Regions from separate parts of the Homo sapiens genome. Here region 2 is linked to region 1. Evidence: promoter capture Hi-C in 16 types of primary human blood cells and fetal thymus (Javierre and others, 2016). All regions are on one chromosome and are shown on one strand. Each heading gives the region's core, a stretch centred on a gene start or on the middle of the fragment in contact. The rest is flanking DNA. Distances are from core to core; before and after follow the strand shown. Region 1 holds the start of FER (FER tyrosine kinase). Region 2 overlaps SLC25A46 (solute carrier family 25 member 46).

The links. The method cuts DNA at HindIII sites, captures the fragments that hold promoters and counts their contacts. A CHiCAGO score of 5 or more calls a contact.
Region 2: a fragment that was not itself captured here is called in contact with the fragment with the promoter of FER in region 1 in 1 of 17 cell types (naive CD8 T cells); the score reaches 5.5 in naive CD8 T cells.

What each region holds. Positions count from the first base shown.
Region 1 is chr5:108,745,557-108,751,075 of GRCh38, reverse strand. FER (FER tyrosine kinase) reads right to left here and starts at 3,179. Exons shown (of 20, transcript NM_005246.4): 1 at 3,076-3,179. RefSeq lists silencers at 1,633-2,042, 2,173-2,232, 2,313-2,412. The HindIII fragment of the contact is 11,506 bases long and covers 664-5,519 here.
Region 2 is chr5:110,748,576-110,754,305 of GRCh38, reverse strand. The region is part of intron 5 of SLC25A46 (solute carrier family 25 member 46); the gene reads right to left. Among named protein-coding and RNA genes, the nearest start is that of SLC25A46, 12 kb to the right of the region's middle. RefSeq lists an enhancer at 1,492-1,751. The HindIII fragment of the contact is 3,478 bases long and covers 709-4,186 here.

The DNA.
Region 1 (5,519 bases), core at 1,930-4,429:
GGATTACAGGCATGCACCACCATGCCCGGCTAATTTTGTATTTTTATTAGAGACCATGTTTCTCCATTTTGGTCAGGCTGGTCTCGAACTCCCGACCTCAGGTGATCCGCCCGCCTCGGCCTCCCAAAGTGCTGGGATTACAGGCATGAGCCACCGCGCCCGGCCACATACGCTGGTTTTTTAAGCTTGATCATTTCAGTTCCTCTATTCCTTAATGTTTACTGTGTAACAGTGGTCTTGAAATCGTTATTGCTAAATATATAGGTGGTGGGTTCAACTCGACTCTTCTGCATTGTTTGAAATTTTTCATAGTAAAATAGTTGAGAAAAAACTGGCAAATTTGAAATGTTCACGGTCCAGAGTTACAGTAACATCTACATCGAAGATGAAATGTAAATGATTTGTCTACCAAAGCTTGAATTATTTCTTCTGAACTAAAGACATCAACCTTTGAAGCAGTGCAGAAGCTGCAACAACTTGACACTACATAGTTTTAGATTATGTATATTTAATGCTGTCAACAATCAATGCAGAAGAGAAACAGATCTTCACTAAAGGTCTTTCAAAGATGAAAACAGAAGTATGCCTATGTACTCTCTTAATATATTCCCAGCATCTTTGGAAGCATAATTCTCTTGGCTCAAAAGTACTAGCAGAAAAGCTTTCCTGGACTACAAAAAGATACACTCTGCTTTCCCGACTGACAAACCTGGAGCTACTCACAAATGTCTTCTTAAGGGCAACACAGGTATATATACCAGGACTACAAATACTGCACTAAAGATTTTGCAATAGTTTTTTTTTTTTATCCTATTCTCATTCCACATATGAATTGAAAAGTATTTTCTAATCTTTAATCACTAAAATAGTTTTGATCTATTCTCTTATTGATGTTCCACTACACTTTTATATATGGTAACCTCATCTGAGAAATTTATTATCTTAACATATCTGGAGAAAAGGAAAATGGAGTACACCTTTACAGCAGTTTATGTCAAAGTGATAGTGAGACAACCATTAATATACGCAACTTCTGAATTAAAAAGGTTAAAAAGCTGCTCTTTTTTTAACCATAAGGCGAAGGAAAAAAATGTAAGGCTACCAGCCGTAACAAATTATTAGATTTTGAATTGCACTACAGTGGATGGCAAAATCGCAAACGTACAAAGTGCCCACCTCATAGTACAATCCTCAATTTGTTTAAGAAGTACCTTGCCCCTACCAACACAACCCAATGAGCGTATTCAGAAAGTAGATCCTAGGGGTAACTGTAAGGCAGAAGGATGACCCCTGAAGGTGCCTCCAAACATCTCCCCAATTCTAACTGGCAAAGAGACCACAGAGCAGAAATTACCGACGACACCACTAGCTTCACACTTAAGATCTATCTCTTGATTAGACTCTTGGAGGACACCTCTGGCCAAGACCGGAGGAGAAAGATGAGGTGGGGGATAAAAGCGGGAGAAGGTGACAGATAGGAGGAGAGCTGGGGAGGACCGAGCGGGTCAAGGGAGACTGCGGGGCTCCAGAAGCAGGAAGGGATGGGGGGAATACCAGGGGTTGAGAATGCCCCCGTAGCGGGACGGCGGCGCCCAGATGAGTGCCGCCGAGAAAAGGGGTGAGGGTACAGGCAAGATTGGGTGGTGCCCACAGTCCCCCCACCACCCCGCCTCACGCCCATCAGCCCCCAGACCCCGCGACGGGGCGGAGCCACTACGCCCGCCACAGCCCTTTCGCGCCGGCACCCGCCCCCTCAGCCTTCGGGTCCCGGGATGGTGGGAGGGGCGGCCCTCGTGGGGCTGGGTGTGTAGCCCGGCCCAAGCCCCAACCAGGAATGCTCTGCTGCGGGCGGGAGGATGAGCGGATGACCCTGCAGCCAGGGACGGGGGTTGGGGGGGGCGCTGGCTGAGGGCGGAGGAAGAGCCTCGGCACAGCCCCCAACGCCCTGGCCGAATCCCGGGCGCCCCTCTGCGGGCAGGCATTGTTGCCCCCGCTCTAGGCTTGCCTTCCCTCCTCTTCCCCCCTCCCCCCGCGTTGCCCCGGGCAACAGCGCCTACCGCCGGCGGCGCGAAACGCACCTACCTAGAACCTGACAAGCCCGAACCCCTCAGACTCCGGAGCCAGTCACCACCCCGCGTCACGGGGGCTGCCACAGCCAATAGGCGCCACTGTCACGAACCTCTGCAACCAATCCCGCTGCACTCCGGTCTCCGGGCACCCTCGAGGCCTCAGCCAATGGGCAAGAGCGGAAGGCGGGCGCAGCCGCCCGGCCCTCAGCCCCCTCCTCCACTACCTCCCAGGAGGCGGGGAGCGGCCGATTGGCCCGGTCCCCGAAGGGGCAGGACTTGGGCCCTAGGCTGGGTGGGCGCACGCTTAGCCCAAGCTGCGGGCCCTGGGAGTGGAGACGCGGAGCTGCGGTCGCCGCTTTCTGGGCTCGCTCACCAGCCCGGGTGGAGTCCCGAGGTCTGCGCGTTTGTGCCGCTCTCCCCGCCTCGGTAACCTGCTCCTCCCTAGCGGGTGTCCTGGGCTGCCGTGGTGAGATGGGGCCGGAGACGGACGAAGGCCTCACAGGAAACTTTGGGAGGCTCGCCTGGCCGCGGCCGGGAAGTGGCCGGACCGGCGATGATAAGCTGAGGCCGCCTGGAAGGGACTACTCGGCGGGTCGGCAGCCGGAAAGGAATTCGGAGAGTGGGGGCGGAGGCGTGATTAAAATGTTAAGTGTGCCCGGAGGGCGCTGGGCGATCCCTGGAGCTGAAATCTCCGGGAAGGGAAGCTGCTTTAGGGCCGCGAGGCCCCCACCCCTAAAATAGGCACTTTTCAGCCTCAGAATTGGTCACTTTTTCCTGTACGTTCCCACGTTTTACTTGTATCTGTTATTAACGTGGATTGCTTTAGAATGGTTTTCAGCAACTCCAGTTTACTCTGAGTCCCTTAAGGACGGGAACTGTCTTTCAATCCTGTACTCCCAGTGCCTGAGCCTGCCTAAAAATGTTAGAAACTCAATGCTGGAATTGTAATGGATGTTTAAAAGCATACAGCAGGTCCTGGGAGTGGCCCCCTATAATAAATTCTTACCTCTTCGGGAGTCTAGAATGCGTGGAGAACCCAAACGGGTCTGCTCTTCAGTGATGGCCGTTTCTGAAGCGTCCTTCACCAAAAGAATTTGGTGAAAAATGAGTAATGTGAACTACAAGATTATTACTAGGTGATCAGTAACAGTAGGATAGGTATGCGTCATTATTCGAGGGTGTGACCCTCCCATGTTCCTGTAGTAGACTTTTTAAGGCGGTGTTATCTTTTGCATTGGTTGAACCACATAGCGTCAATCCGGTATTTCCCCTCCCTCTCAAAAACTGAGTTACATAGGAGCCAAAGAAGAGTGGTGAATATTTTCTCTAAGCAGGGTTATTTATTTAACCGTAGAGAACAGCCCTACACATAAAAAAACATAAATCTTAAGTTGGACTTTTTTTAAGTCTACTGTTTTAAAGCTAAATAAACAAAAACCAACATAAAAATTTTAAATAAGAGGCTTAATTCTCCCTATTGAAAATGGAGGATGAGATTTCCCGTCCCTTTCTCTCCGAGCATTTGTCTTAGAAAACTTAAGTACTTTCTTAATTGTTAAGTACTTTCTCAACTCTTTGAAATGTGTATAAATCCACTTGAGGACTAGATAGGTCTTGTCAACTGTATGCTCAGTCAGGAATGTCTCTGGACCTTTTTTTTTTTTTTTTTTTTGAAATGCTGCACATATCAACGGAGTAGCATCCTTCCCTATCTCCCAGTTTCTGTGAGAGAGTAGGAGCGTAACTTCGGTGAGCAACTTGCTCCGTGTTGCAAAACTACCTTCCGTCATAAAGACAGGAGAAGTTTGTTTTTCCTCTGGATAAAACCAATTAACTAACACAGATGGTCACCCCAATTATTAAGTAAAGTTAATGTCACAAATGTCAGGTCCTCTTACTTGAGGACTAGTTATTGTTCAACTTGAAAACGTGTATGTAATGGGTCGTATATACTTGGCTATACAAAAGGGCAAGATTTCTGTCTTTGCAATCTCTTAGCAAATTGCCTGTGATGTGTATCACAGTCTCGTTTAATGCTTATTCAGTAATAAAAGTGTTTTGTCTACTAACGTTTGTGGAGAGGATTTCTGGGTTGGGAGATTTTGGTTTTTAATTATATTTTTCCAACAATGCCTATACCCAGAATGTTGGGATGACAAAGTTAAGGAAAGTAGTTACTTCGGAGTTTTTAAATTGTTCTCTAAAATGATGGTTAATGTTTCATATGTATTTCATAGTGATTGTTAAATGCACAAACTGTGGTTCTGTGAGTAAACTTCTTAAAATAGAAGTTAATTTTCTGTGAACATCAAATGTTATAGTATATGTAATGTCAATAAGAATGAAATGAATGAAAATTTGGTTAGGTAAGGCCAAAATACAACTTTGGAGACTGCTTCATGACTGAATACCTTTCCCAAGAACCTTAGAATTTCTCCATTTATACAAAGGGAATCAAAATGTAGAAAGATGTGGTTGGTGAATACGTTATTACATATTTGCAGAAAGTAGCTTTCAATAAAGATATGGTAGAAATAGAGCTGTTTGATACACAACATGTGTGTTTGTGTTAAGGAACCCAAATCTAGAAAAATCAGCAAGAATCTTTCCATATCTACAATTGTTCTCTGAGTTCTCACCTATTCATTCCAAAACCTTAAAAGCTGTCTACCATATGCCAGTCATTGTGCTAGGAAATGCAGTTGTGAAAGAATATACTTGAAGTAAATGAATGTGGCAAAAATCTATGCTGCATTTTTGAAGCATACAAAAATATATAGCAAATCCAGTTTCACATTTTTTTCCTCTGTTGGAATTATCACATTGCATTGCAACACATTTAATAAACACTGTGTGTCACCTTAGTATATATTCCATGTTCTCAAATACCAAACTTTGTCTGTTCTAATAGCATTACTTACTGGACAATGAAAATAATAATGTGGACATCAAACCTAGGTGGGTAATAAAAAATGATTGAAAAGTTTTTTACTTTTTTTGATTAGCACCATCCATGCCTCACCCCATCTCTCCACCTCCCTTTTTTCCTGTTTAAAAGTATAGACTGCAAGAGGAATCTTGGTTGTGTGCCATCTTAGTTCAGTAGTTCCAATACTTACCCCTCCCTCCTTTTCTTCATCTGTGTCTCTTTTCTGCCAACTCCTTTGATTTGTGACTCTCTGCTTTCTAATCCACAATTCATACCTATCCACAATTCATAACTAACCATACACACATACTGCTCCTAAAATAGAGATCATGATGAGGTATGCAATATGGAAACCATATCTATCCTTATTCTATACATGCTGCAGTGTTTGTTTTCAGTGGATATATATTTTTTTCTTTTTGAAAATTGTTCTCTTGAATGAATACTGTTCCTAGAGGTCACATTTGTGTGAAATTTTCTTTAGGACTGTTTTGGCTTTCCAAATTTCAAATTTTCAAAAT
Region 2 (5,730 bases), core at 1,198-3,697, 2.0 Mb before region 1:
GGGAAGTGCAAAATAAAGATAAGACTTGCTACCAACAGTTTCTCTGATGGAATGGGTACTCATTCCATCATGGCTATGGCTACAGCAGGAATCTAGATAAACATTTTCTATTTCACATGACTGAATTTGAAAAACAACAGCATATACATACATCAGAGACTTTCAGACAATAGAGCAACTACCCCCGATTTCTAAGACCTTAGAGCACCTTCTGGGCCGAACTCTGATTAAATTACTATTAGGATATTTATTTGGCCTGAACAACACAATGTAGCTGAAATCATATTATTCAATGATTAAGTCGAAAAATATAAAAAATAGATTAGGCCTCCCATCTTACTGAAAGTTACTTTATGATTATAAAACAAAATACGTTACATGCTTTGTAAATCATCTTGGCACAGCTAATACTCATGGCCTCACAAAGTATTACCACAGTTTATGACGACACCAATTTTAAGTATGAAACTGTGGTAAACACTTAGGACTGGGTAGCCTCCCCTTTAAATACAATGTCAATTCTGAGTTACCTCCCCTTTGATGACTACTGCCAATTCTTAAGATCATTAAGATAAAAGGAGACTTAAAACCAAGTATTTAAAAAAATGCTTTTGGGACTCTTCTTTGTATCTGTTCTCTACTACTTTATAAAATGGGTAAAATTTACTGTTACAGCTCTAGAAATTTAAATAAGCATACTTAAAAGCTTCAGTCACTAAACCTTTTTATAATTCATTATCAAATACCAAACATGTAAATATATCTAAATTATCTATTTCCAAGCAAAAAATGCCCTCCCTAATGAACGAAAAAATTAATAAAATTTATTCGAGTACCTTGCTTTTCTCAAAACAGTCTAGTTTTTCATTTAACAAATCAAAACACATACTCCTATGCATAATCAACACAAAAAAGGCAATAAAATTCTAAAATAACTCTGTCTCAGCAGTCTTTAATTTTCAAATGGTCAAATAGCTATCCTAATTAAAAAAAAAAAAAAAAAACTTACCCCAACCTACTCTAAACCCCTCATCTTCCAGTTACCTCTCTTCATCAATCCTAGTCAGAGCCAACCATCTAAACTTTCTGTTTCCACGTCTGTACTTTCCCACTCACCTCTGAACCCACTTCAAATTGGTTTTGAACAAAAACAGCTCTTACCAAAGTCTCCAATAATCTGCATGTCATTAAATCTGATGGACATTTTTAAGTCTCTACCTTATTTGACATTTCAGCAGCCATCAGAGCCTCTTCTCTCCTTGAAGCACTCTTTGCCCCTGTGCTCCACTAGCCCATTCTGTTGGTTTTTATCCTGCCTTCTGGTCTCTCCTGACTCCTTTTCAAGACCACCTTTCTTAACCCAGCCACCCCTTGGTTGGAGTTCCTAAGGTTCAGACTCTATTCTTCTACCATAGTGTATCCTTCTTCCCTAGCGACGCTCATATCTAGGGTTAGAGCTTCAAAATCTCCCAAATTAATTTACCTTCAGTTAAGAATTCTTTATATGCCAGCCCCATATCATGTGCCTACAGACAACTCCATCTGGATATGATAAAAGATCTGAAAATGCACTTGTACTAAAGTCCAACTTAAAATCTTTCTTTTCTACTTAAACTCTTTCAGTGTTCCCTACTCAGGAACTATTAATCAGAAAGGAAATCTATTGAATTTGAGGAAGATTTCATTGTGTTTAAAATAACGTGTGTTTAAAATAAGCAAATTCGGAGGGAACCGTTGGAGGAAAACTACAAGATGTTTACAGTGGTATAACCACAGATGTGTGATGAGTCAAAACTAAGTTGGAGTTGAACCAAATGGGTTTTGTGAGAGACTGAACCACACAGGTAGCCTTGGTTACAGGAACTCCTACCTCGCGTTAACAGTCTGAAAAAAGCCACATGTAAATTAAGTAAAGGGTACTGTGGGGGTAGAACGACACATGGTTTAACTCACTGCAACTGGGAGAGAGAACAGGGAAGGGTTTAGCAGTATCTACTGCTAAAGAGATCACACATGACGATCCTGGCTAATATATAATTTGTTAAAAAGTAATACTACTGAGAAATTATAAATTTGCTGACTTAATGAACACTAGAGATCTGCTGTTTTTCTCTTTGATTTGATCATAAACTGTATTTAAAAACCCCTAAATATTGGCAAATCTGTACTATCTCCCCTGTTCTACCTAGTAAATGTTACGCAATTAAAAAACCCCAGGCTAGGAGACCTCAGAGCTCATCCTCCTCATGTAGTAGCTTCTGTGAACTGCTGTTAATGTTTTGTGACCTTGTTTGCTCCTTCTTCCCATTAATAGGATACAGAAACAAACTCTGCCTTCTTCCCATTAATAGGAAAGGTCAAATCTGCCCAAAGAAGAATAAATAATTTTTTAAAAGATATTCACACTATACTTCAAAAAAACAGCTTCATTTGACAACTAGTTACACAAGCCCAAATACAAGAAGTCATTCTTCATACTGCCTTCTCTTTGATCTACCATTCCTAAAGCATCACCAAATTCCCTCAGTTTGACCTAAGTATATTTCAAAACTGTCCACTTACCTCTATCTCAAAAGATACCACCCTGATCTTAGCCACTATCTTTTCTTACCTTTATTATTGTAATAGAATACTAAGATGTCTCCTTTTATTCACTTTGGTCCTCATACAACCTTTTCATCTACAGTTACAATGACCCTTTGAAAACAAATCTGATGTCACTGACCTTACTGAACCTCTTCAATATTCTTAAAATGGCCTACAGGGCCACACATGTTCTGGCTCCCACCTGCTCTGTACCCTTACCCTTGGCCAGAGCTCCAGCCATGTGAGGCTTCTCTCAGTTACACCTGAATTCTCTAGGCTCCCCACTGCAACAGCATTTTTGTACAAACTGGTATGTACCTCCTAATTACCACTCTGATCTACCTTAAGTGTCATGTTACTAGGGACACTGTTTCTAGCCCTTTAATACTTTCATGGAACTATATTCTTTTGCTTCAGAAAACAAATTTCAATTTGCAATTATTCATTAATGGAATTATTGTTCTTAGTGAATGTACTTTTATTAGATTCTGAGCTTCCTGGCAACAGTTACCTTTTGTTTATTTTCCTCACTGTAAACCCGGTTTTTAGCACAGAACCTGGCACATAGTAAGTACTCAGGAAATGTTAGCCAAGTAAATGAATGAATTAATGAGTGGGCCTTATCACCAAAATTATCCAAGTAGAACAATGCAATAGAGGTTACTATTTTGTCTTCTTTGGAAAGATTCAAAATGATGAAAATATATTCCCACTCAGTTGACATGTCTGTCTACTGAGTAAGAAAGTTAGATGATAAAATTTTATAAAGTCCTATGCCTTCCCATTCCTATTTTTCTTTTTTCTTCCCTGTAGCCTGAAATTAATGTTATTCCTTCATCTCTGCTTTAGAGAGGCAACATTACTTGCATAAGGTCCCAGAAATAAAAAGTGGAATAGCCAGGACCTGAACCAATAGTGTTCTGGTTGCAAATATAGTCAACCCTCCATATCCATGGGTTCCACATACATGGATTCAGGCAACTACGGATTTACAATATTTATTTAAAAAAGGGATAGTTGCATCTGTACTGAATGTGTACAGAGTTTTTTTCTTTCTTGTCATTATTCCCTAAACAATATAGAATAACAACTATTTACATAGCATTTACATTGTATTTGGTATTACAAGGAATCAAGAAATGATTTAAAGTATACAGGAGGTTATGTACAGGTTGTATGCAAATACAACACCATTTTATAAAAGGGACTTAAGCATCTCTGGATTTTGGTATCCACTGGGGGTCCTGGAATCAATCCCCTACAGATATGAGGAACAACTGCATTGAATTTTTTTCACTCTACCAAATGGAATTTCCTGCATTTTGTTATTTTTTTACAGAATTGTTTGTTAAAGAATTTCAAGAATATTTGACTATAAGTACTAACTTGGGATCTTATCTAGTGATATAAAAGCAATAAAGTGAATAGTTAGCCAAACAACGAAATACAGATTTTTAAAGAATAAAACAAGAAACTCTGAGCTGCCCAAATGTTGCTGACCTTTCTAATCTTTGTTTTGTTTCAAACGTTTTAGCAAAGTTTATTTAAGGCACTTCAAGACTACGAGGTCCTTCAAAAGCAATCACATTGGAAAAAAGCTTACTATCAGTTTCTCTTGCTTTCATTTCCTTCCCTGTAAGGACTAAATCCCAACATTGGGCATATGCGTTACACTAGTAGCTATGCCTTCAACTATCTCACTTCTTTAACAATGCAAAAAATTCACCTTGCCAGAGAATAAATTTGGATTAACAAACCATTCCAAAGCCTTTAACATTATCGATAGGATGATATACAAAAATATAGTGCTGATATAGAAAATCAGAGTAATGCCAAATAGCACCTTAAAAATTTCTAATTTCCAATATTACCTATTAACATTCCTTTCATATACTCTTTGTAAGATTCCTTTGTTACCCATCATTGTGACTGTCCCAAATGTGTATCATTCCTCTCATGCTTTTCTACTACAACCCCAATGCTTATCATTTTTTCACCAAATAACCCTGTATCCTGCTTCACAGAGAAAAGAGAGACCCAAAAGCAAATTTCCCTAATTTCTCTACCCTCTCTCTCAAATGTATCTACACTTCTAATTCTCCCATTTTTGGTTTCTAGAACATGATTGTCCTACATCTTATGCTATTTCCAATTTGTCTGAGGCCCTCTCTAATTTCTCTCATTATCTCCCCCAACTACCCCCCTTCCCACCGCTCCCACACACACACGGCACACATGTATGCCTAGGATTCTGTCCTTGGTCCATTTTATTCATTTAATCTATGCTTTCTCCTTAGGTGATTTCATCTATCCTAAGCTTCAGCTGCTACTTTTATGCCACAATACCCAAAGCTCTCCCTGTGCTTCAATTTTCTATTTTTTTTTTTTTACTCTGATCCATGGTTCCAACCAAATATGAGACATGTCCCTCTCCCTCAATGTCTTGCAAGAATCTCAAACTTCATTTATTGAAAGATAAATTCTTTATCTTCTTCCCTACTCCAACTTTTTCTTCTTCTTGAATTCTCCATCTTGGTTAACATTTTCCAATCTAGAAATCTCAGTCACTACTGACAACTCATTCTCTCCTATCTCCAATTACCAAGCTAACATAATGACCATCGACTATACTTCAGAAATGTCTAGCCAGCTCATCCCTTTCTGTTCTGTTCCACAGTTCAGAACCTTCTCAGCCTCGCCTAGATTATTACAATAGATCTCCATAAATCTGTCTATACAACTCCATTTATTTTATACTGCCATTTGAATATATCTTGATCAGAACATCTATATATTAAAAAAAGAAACACATTCCAAACCCATAGAGAATAAACTTAAAAAGGCACAATCGTATTTTAATGTAGCACCTCAGCTTCTTTTCCTGATATTCAATTTCATACATACCCAATATTCCAAACATAAGACACTTCTTTTATTACCTAGACTGTCCAACCCCGTGACATTGGACATGTTACCTCTTCTTGCTTACATGTGTCTCCTTCATTAAATGAATACTTAAAGAGCGGGAATTGCTCACATACCCACATTTGTTCCTCAGCTGGCAGTTGCTGGCACATAGCAGTAGAAGCTGAAAGATACATCTCAATAGATACTAAGCCAAGACACATTTTCTTTATCACATAC